Linked DNA regions of Homo sapiens: all the other regions are linked to region 2. Evidence: promoter capture Hi-C in 16 types of primary human blood cells and fetal thymus (Javierre and others, 2016). All regions are on one chromosome and are shown on one strand. The core of a region is centred on a gene start or on the middle of the fragment in contact, and the rest is flanking DNA. Distances in the headings are between cores, read along the strand shown.

Region 1 (3,041 bases), core at 150-2,649, 200 kb before region 2:
CTCAACCTCCCAAAGTGCTGGGGTTACAGGCGTGAGCCACCGCATCCGGCCTATTTATTTTTTAAAATAGGGTCTTACACTATCACTCAGGCTGGACTGTAGTGGCACAATCATAGCTCATTGCAGCCTCAAACTCCTGGGTTCAAGTAATCGTTCCCTGTCAGCCTCCCAAGTAGCTAGGACTGCAGGTGCACACCACCATCCCTGGCTAAGACAACGTGAATTAAATGTTTTTTTGCAGTTTTGGATATCAGAAGTCTACAATAAAAGTATTAGCAGGGCTGTGTATCTTCTGGAGACATCATGAGATAATTCATTTTCCTGGCGTTTTCAGCTTCTAGTGGCCCCTTCCTTGCATCACTTCTTGCTTCTGTAGTCACATTTTCTTTTCCTGACTCTGAACCTCCTGCCTTCCTTTTATAGGACCCTCTTGATTACATTGGACCCACTTAGATAATCCAAGATAATCTCCCCATCTCAAAATCTTCAATGAAATCCCATCTGCAAAATTCCTTTGACCACTTAAGGTAACATAAGGTAACTTATTCACAGGTTCTGGTGATTGGTTGTGGACCTATTTTGGGGGTCATTATTTAGCCTACCATACCCTTTATTAATAAATAGCAGGCATTTGTTAATGCTCTTTAGATTTAATCTATTGGTCATGGCTTTTTTAAAAAAGATAATGTATAGATTTACACCAAGCTTATACACAAGTCTTTCAATAGGAGAATCTTATGGAAAGGGTCTATGATGTAATGATTAGCATCTGAACTCAGACTTGGCAAATTTATGGCAATGATGTCTTGTATTTTTACATTCTCAACTATACTCCCTTTCAGCCATAGGATCCACTGCTCTCTGGCTGATCAGGCCTTCCTGCATGTATTAGTTATCTGTTGTATAACAAATTGCACCCAAATTGGCAGCTTAAAACAACAGACACATATCTCACATGAGATATCATGAAAGTAATATCCTATCACATTTTTTATATTCTGTAGGTTAGGAGCAGGTCACTAGATCCAGCCAACATTCAAAGGGAGGAGTTTACACAGGAAGTGTGGCCACCACACTGTTAAACACTGTAAAGACCTCAGGGCAGAATAAGCCCTAATTGGAGCTGGTCTAATGCTATGACTGATATTTTGCAGACACCTTCTTTTGCTTGGTCAGGAAGTGCTGTATTGGGAGCAATTCCTGGTACCTTTTGGATTGGGAAAATTATCTCTTGCCTCACCTTTTTAAAACTAGTTTTCCATTGTGTATCTTCCTTTATGATCAAGCCAGTATTGAAGAGCTTGACTGCTACTCTCTTTTAATATCATGACTGAACAAGTGAATTAGAATCTATAGGGATAATGCCCTGACATGAATCCTTCTCAAAAGTTCCCTATGGATTCAAATGTGCAGCATGGAAAACCACTGAGCTAATTTTCCCCTGACCACCCTATTTAACTTGCCACCACTCCTATGCATATACCATCCTCTGACATACTGTGTATTTTGCTTTTTTTTTTTTGGTGAGACAAGGTCTCACTTTGCCATCCAGGCTGGAGTGCAGTGGTGCAATCTTGGCTCACTGAACTTCGACCTCCTGGGTTCAAGCGATCCTCCCTCCTCAGCCTCCTGAGTAGCTGGGACTACAGATGTGCACCGCCACGCCCAGCTAATTTTGGTATTTTTTGTAGAGATGAGGTTTCACCATGTTGCCTAGGCTGGTCTCAAACTCCTGAGTTCAAGGAATCTGCCTGCCTTGGCTTTCCAAAGTGCTATGATTATAGGTGTGAGCCACTGTGCTTGGCCTATATTTTGCTTTATAAGTTGTTTATTGCTTATTTCTACATAATTAGGTTTCACCAGGGCAGGGAATTTTGTGTGTGGCATATACATTTGTTCTTAGAACAATGCCTGGAACATACGCAATGCTCAATAAATATTCATCAAAACATTGAATGAATCAAAGAACTAATGAACCCTTCAGGTCCAGGTTTGTTTATCATGCTTTATAATTTCTAATCCAAACACAATCAAGACCAAGCAATAGTTTTTCTTTTCAGAACACTTTAGAATTTGTTGCTAACTGAAGCTTTAAAAAAATGAAAATTCGTACATTTCCTGGCCTGCTATGTTTTGATGGTGATTTGATACCTAATATGTCTGATATTTGTTAGGTAATTCCTTGGTAACTCCCTAGGGGATACAGTTTGAATCTTGATCATATTCTTAATTGCTTTGCTTTGCTTTGCTTTGCTTTTGAGACAGGGTCTTACTCTGTCACTCTGTTACCCAGGCTGGAGTGCAGTAGTGTGATTATGGCTTGATGCAGCCTCGCCCTCCCAGGCTCAGCTGATCCTCTCAACACAGCCTTCCAAGTAGCTGGGACTACAGGCACCAGCCACCACACTCGGTTAATTTTTTGTATATTTTGTGGAGTCGGGGTTTCGTCATGTTGCCTAAGCGATCCTCCAGCCTTGGCCTCCCAAAGTGCTGGGATTACAGGTGTGAGCCACTGTGCCCGGCCTTATTTTTTTAATGCTACATCATGTCAAAACACACACATACACAATATTATTGTTTTTGTAATTTTATTGGGTATAGGTGAGAAAACAGCCCCTGGTATCCAGGAACTGGTCTGACCGTATTCACTAGGCCTGCATATTGTCAGGAATCGGCCAGGCAGTCACTGCTAAGTCATGGGGTTCTTCTGTTTTGCCTAATTTCACAGAACATTAGCATCAGACTGACTTCTCTGATTGTGATGAAATGAGTCAGAAACAACCAAAGAAAGGTTGGACATGGTGGCTCATGCCTGTAATCCCAGTACTTTGGGTAAACCAAGGTGGGTGGATTGCTTGAGCCTAGGAGTTTGAGGCTAGCCTGTGCAACAGAGTGACATAGTGAGACCCTGTCTCTATAAAAATAAATTTATTTTTTTAATTTAGAATTTAAATGAAATACAAACAGATAATAAAAATGACAACACTAAGTATCATTTTCATCACATTTCTTTGTGCAAAATAAGCAAAAACAAAACAAAA
Region 2 (2,995 bases), core at 393-2,892:
TGCCTCACTTGCCTGACATAGCAGAGAGCCATTTTGCCTAAATGCTGTGCCCAGCAATGGACTGTCACCAGATTCTCATCACATACAGTGAGGATGAACAACTAGCCTCTCCCAGCAGCTGGCCGGTCTCTCAATAATATGGGACTCCCTCAAGATGGCTTCCTGCACCTTTGCTCCTCTAGCCTTGTATGTATACAAGGCTAGCATGCCTGGCATACATAAGGTTAAAAACAAAATCAATAAGTTATGGTTCTTCCTCCAGTTCTGGGGATTATTAGACCACTTTTTTGTTTTGTTTTGTTTTGGATGGAGCCTCGCTCTGTCACCCAGGCTAGAGTGCAGTGGCACAATCTCGGTTCACTGCAACCTCTGCCTCCTGGGTTCAAGCAGTTCTCTGGCTCAGCCTCCCACGTAGCTGGGATTACAGGTGCCCGCCACCACGCCCGGCTAATTTTTGTATTTTTAGTAGACGGGGTTTCACCATCTTGGCCAGGCTGGTCTTGAACGCCAGACCTCGTGATCCACCCACCTTGGCCTACCAAACTGCTGGGAATACAGGCGTGAGCCACCGCGCCCGGACTTAGACCACTTTGTTTTGGCCAATAGGACAACAGCCATAGAACCCTCCGCAAATGAGAGCTTGTCCCTAAAGATGCTTTATTTACATAGCTGTGTGCCGCATGAGCCAAAAGGTGATAACCTTTGTTCAACACGCGCCTCCAGCCCTTCGGTTAAGTCCAAAGTACCATTCTTAGAATGCTCTAAAATACATAATTTTTTTTTTTTTTTTTTTTTTTTTTTTTGAGGAGTCTCTCTCTGTCTCCCAGGCTGGAGGGGAGTGGCGCGATCTCGGCTCACTGCAATCTCTGCTTCCGGGCTAGCTGGGCCTACAGGTGCAGACCACCACGCCCGGCTAAGTTTTGTATTTTTTTTGGTAGAGGGGGTTTCACCATTTTGGCCAGGCTGGTCTCGGATTCTTGATCTCAAGTGATACACTAGCTTTGGCCTCCCAAAGTGCTGGGATTACAGTCGTGAGCCACTGCGCCCAGCAAAATGCTTTTTGTGGAGCCAATCACTTTATTAGCGCTTACCTCTCTATGCCTACTTTATGCTTTGAAATTTTGTCACAGTGTGGCCGGTCATGGCAAACACAATTCATTCTTATGCAGGATGTCACGGTTATTTCTGTCATCCAAACTCATTCTCGCAACGCATTTCAGCTCTTTAAACGACTTTGTGAGCGGCCCTGAAAAGGGCCTTTGGGTTTTTTTGTTTTTGTTTTTTGAAGTTCTCAGGAGACCGCGTATTCTTAGATTCAGCCGCCGAAGCCATACAGAGTGCGCCCCTGACGTTTTAGGGCATATACTACATCCATGGCTGTGACAGTTTTGCGCTTGGCGTGCTCCGTATAGGTGACGGCGTCTCGAATAACGTTCTCTAAGAAAACCTTAAGCACACCTCGAGTCTCCTCATAGATAAGACCGGAAATGCGCTTGACGCCACCGCGCCGAGCCAAACGGCGAATAGCCGGTTTTGTAATGCCCTGGATGTTATCCCGGAGCACCTTACGATGGCGCTTAGCACCACCCTTCCCCAAGCCTTTTCCGCCTTTGCCGCGACCAGACATGATTCCTATCGCAGTGGAAGGTATGAACTGAAACAGTTCCTTAAATACAAACTTGGCGGACCTGATTGAAAACAACATGAGTTGGCGCGGTTTTTTTTTTTTTTCAAATTTGGTCACCAAGTGGGTGGAGCAAGAAAAACTGTTTCATTATGGTTCATTGTTTTGATTGGCCAGTGACAGCTTGCTCTTTGTGGGAGTGGAAGGGTGTTTGCAAGTTGAATGCGCTGTATTCCTGTCAGCTTAATGACGCTAAGCATAGCCCCATTCCACATTTCTTTTTATTTCCACTTGCTAACTAATAAATTACGGAATAGTTTATTGGGGAACATACAAATAATGTTTAAAGGAGGTCAGATTTATAGGTCAAGGGATTTACCCTCCCAATCATTTTAATATTTTTATTTAAACCAGGCATTTTGATGGCCTTCTCTGTGCTGGACAAGGTATAAGTTTGGCTATGAAGTTTCACTCCTAAAGACCCTATGTTTTGGGAAGGCAAAAAGGTAGCCAAATAATTGCAAATTAAAACCTCATAAGTGCAAACTTCTTCCTCGTCACTTTCCCTATCTCGATTCAAATATTTGTTGAATGACTCATTTTTCTGCAAAAGTCTGAGAGAGACAGGGAATATAAACTTAAGTCTGGATAATATGTTTTCCCGGGACGCTCTTCCTGGTCTGCTGTGCCTGTTTGCTGTGCCTGAAATTCCAAACACTCTTCCCTTCCCTCCGTTTTTAATCCCCTTTCAACTTGCTACAGCTTTAGAGAAAAGAACATTCGTTTTGTACAGTTGGGGATTAATTGAAGTGTAGGGCTAATACTTGATTAAGGTCATTACAAAATCTACAGGGTCTTCCTCTGGGAGGTTTTTGTGATAAGATTATTGGTGTTAAAATAAGGCTAATCCCCTTGAAAAATAAATAGAATAGCAGAATTGGGTCTGAATGTGGTTTGAAGAAAGGGACTTCTCAATTCAAAATTTTATTCTTAGCTTCCTGCGGGAGCTTTCCAGAATGCCCATAAGATCCACTTTTGTTTAAAAAACAAAAACAACCCCACCCACCACTCTCTGGTTAATAAATGAATTTCTATTGGGAATATTTAGAATGGGGCTGTGGCCTGTGAGAGACATTATATAGTAACCTCAGACTTGCTCACATGAAGAGAAGAAATCCAGGAATGGAGAAAAAAGACCCAGGAAAGGCCAGAATGCTCTACATGTCATATTGTTTGTATCACTTCTGAAATAATTGATTACATTCTTCTGCCCCAAATTGAGTTCTTAGGTTCTTCCACTCACTGTCCACATGCCACAACACAGACCTTATAACTAGAGACTTAGCTAGGAAGAAATGTCAAACATTACAG
Region 3 (2,979 bases), core at 237-2,736, 230 kb before region 2:
AACAGAATGTATTTCTATAAAGATAAAAACAACGAAACTCCCAAGACGTCTATATTTGGAATATACAGGGAAAACTAGGTAAGAAACGGAATGAAATATAAACAAGAACAGGTGAAAATGAAGCAATTCAGAGGCAGAGAAAATCAGTGATTGGGCGGACAGCAATTTTACCGAGAGGGAAGCAGCTAGGCACTATTTTGTATCTGTTAATAGCTGCCTGGTCTTCACCAGTACCGAAATTATTTTCATGAATCAGATTGACAGGTAAATAAAACGTAGGTGTCCCGGAGACCTCGTGGCGCAACGGTAGCGCGTCTGACTCCAGATCAGAAGGTTGCGTGTTCAAATCACGTCGGGGTCAACAGTTTTTAGCTCGCTGGCTCAGATAACTGTATGGCGGGGAGTACATTACATATTACAGGGGGAAAAAAGTTGCTTTTCCTGCTTCTCTTAGGCACTTGTATACTCAGTTACTTTAGCCTCCTCAAAACTACCCCCTTCTCTTTTTTTAGTAGGAAGATATATACAGGAATATGTTATGGTATTTTGGGGCTTATTTCCGGGTTTATAGAGACGTTTTCACTCTTTTATTGCAAACATTCTGAATTATACTCTTCAGCAACTCATCCCTATTGTTAAACCCTCCTGGACTTCTCTCCATACTCACTCCCACGCCCGCGGCCTTATCTTTTCATCCATGTCTGTCTCTCCAACCTTCAGAAGCTTAGCAGATCTTCGCAGAGACGTAGTCTGGTTTGAGTGGATGACCTAAGCTTACCTGCTTCATATTTGGATCAGCTGTTCCAGGCTAAAGCGATTCCATTGAACTTCCCTGGATCTCTGCGATTTCCTCAACCCTCCCTGCAAATCACGGAAGAAGTCACTTGATTTCCAGAGGCAGAAAACCTGAATGCAGTTACTTTCTCAAATTCATACAGGGAATGAACCATTACATCAGAGAAGGCTAGCTATTCCGTGAACCCCCTTATAGTATTATCTGAAAATGTGCATGAATGTGCCGTTTTTTTCCCCACATGTGGCTCAAGACCCCCTACAGATTATGAATTAGCAAATTACAACATGGAAAAAAGGAAAAGTACGTTTATTTCTTCAGAAGTGTTTAAATTTTTATAACTTACAATGACTTTAAAACATGACATTTGAAATATTAGCAGATTTTCTCTTATGTATTTACTGTACACATTCACACAATACACAGTGACAAACATTACATCGGAGAAGTGTACCTAAAATAACCTTTTTCCTATTTCTTATTAACTCTTTTCTTAGTAGTAGTCTAAGCCTATGGCCATATTACGAACAGATTACTGCTCTGGAAAAAAAAAAAAGAGAGAAGACATAATTTTGAGATTTGGAAACTTGACACGCTAGAAAAAAGGTGACTATTAACTCTGGGACCTGTGACTCGCGTAGCAGAGTGGCGCAGCGGAAGCGTGCTGGGCCCATAACCCAGAGGTCGATGGATCGAAACCATCCTCTGCTAGGGAGCGTTTTGTGGATTTGTTTTTCCCCCTTCCAAAAATAGATCTACCTCATAGGAGGAGGAAATTGGTATAATTGTCATGGACACCGTAAGGGAACTTATTTTGATTTGCACCTCTCTCAGAGATCTATATCTCTGGTTGCAATACATTACTATCCTAATTAGATTAAAAATAACAAAAGCAGTAGTTTTAGCTTTGATTGTTTGAACAGTTAATAGATACCATGCACTATTCCAAGTTCTGAATCATTTATTCCTCGCAATTCTACGAAGTAAATACTTGCTATTACTCTTACTTTACAAATGAGACAAATTGGGGTTTGTCTGCAAGTTGGGGTTTGCAGAGGTTAACTAACTTGCCCAAAGTCATGCAGCTAGTAAATGGTAGAGCAAAGATAAAACTCTAAACCGCCGTTCTGCATAATTACAAACACTAATATTTACAGCAAACTTCAAAAGTTATTTCAGCTATTCCTTCCGAGTTTTATTAGTAGGACATGAACTCACCTAGTATTATTAAATCCCTAGTAAAATGAGAGGTACCATATGTGACATATAGTAACATGTCCAGATTTGAGCAGGCTGTAGGTGACACTTTTTTTCCTGTTCTTATTTTTCTGTTTACTCAAACTAATACAGATGCATAAGGAGACATGTTTAAAGTAGGATGAAATCTACAGACTGTGCAAAGCTTTTGAACTTTTGGAGAAATGTTTAGACAACTGACGAAATGCTTGGGGTTGAATTAATGAAAAGTGTCTAGAAGCTTAAGCAGTAAAACAACAAGAAAAGACAGTTATGTACTAATGCCGGGGAAAAATAAAAATTGCAAGGAAAGGAAAACTTAACAATGTATTTCTTTGCCCACTTGTTGAATTATGTTTATAAAGTTGTCATATTTTAAGCTACAAATATTAAAGTATCATGTATTGTGCTATAACCATATGAGAAGACTTAGAAAGGGAGCATGTGTGTGTCGGGGGTCCTGGGGTGTGAAGAAGAAAGTGAACCAGTTACTCCTCTTATATAAAGTCAACAGAAGGTCCATACAAACATATTATTTAGAGATATGTAGGTAAATAATTTTAAAATAAGCTATTTAAATGTTTAAAAAGTAGGCTTAACCACTCAGCCACGACTATAGGTGCCAAAAGTTTTCTTAAACGTCGTACATGTTATTATATGTCACATATTGTACCTCTCGCTTTACCAGGAATTTAATAGCTGAGTTCACGTCCTGCCAACAAAACTTAGAAGGAATCAACAAACTTCAAGTTCAGGCGCATATGTGGTAAGCTGAGAATGTTCTTTGGGTGTTTTCTATAATGCAAATCAGGAATATGTTTCAATAACTTTAAAAATTGCTAGAGGACAGGGAGCAGAGAAGAGACTTGATTTTTGTTTCAAGTGATTCTTGAAATTATGAGTATGCGAAAAGGATAGAAAAGAAACCAAAATTGTTTGCTATCTAGAAA

The links. The method cuts DNA at HindIII sites, captures the fragments that hold promoters and counts their contacts. A CHiCAGO score of 5 or more calls a contact.
Region 1: a fragment that was not itself captured here is called in contact with the fragment with the promoter of H4C3 in region 2 in 1 of 17 cell types (monocytes); the score reaches 5.3 in monocytes.
Region 3: a fragment that was not itself captured here is called in contact with the fragment with the promoter of H4C3 in region 2 in 1 of 17 cell types (monocytes); the score reaches 5.3 in monocytes.

What each region holds. Positions count from the first base shown.
Region 1 is chr6:26,306,109-26,309,149 of GRCh38, reverse strand. No RefSeq gene overlaps it. Among named protein-coding and RNA genes, the nearest start is that of TRS-GCT6-1, 2.1 kb to the right of the region's middle. The HindIII fragment of the contact is 1,384 bases long and covers 708-2,091 here.
Region 2 is chr6:26,102,580-26,105,574 of GRCh38, reverse strand. It overlaps H4C3 (H4 clustered histone 3), which reads right to left and starts at 1,642. Exons shown (of 1, transcript NM_003542.4): 1 at 1,238-1,642. The coding sequence starts at 1,627. The coding sequence ends at 1,316. RefSeq lists enhancers at 1,280-1,970, 1,995-2,104. The HindIII fragment of the contact is 10,429 bases long and covers 1-2,995 here.
Region 3 is chr6:26,328,826-26,331,804 of GRCh38, reverse strand. TRX-CAT1-4 (tRNA-iMet (anticodon CAT) 1-4) reads left to right here and starts at 1,433; the gene lies at 1,433-1,504. It overlaps TRW-CCA3-2 (tRNA-Trp (anticodon CCA) 3-2), which reads left to right and starts at 290; the gene lies at 290-361. LOC101928743 (a long non-coding RNA gene) reads left to right here. Exons shown (of 3, transcript XR_241992.5): 1 at 1-78; 2 at 2,718-2,795. The HindIII fragment of the contact is 1,422 bases long and covers 776-2,197 here.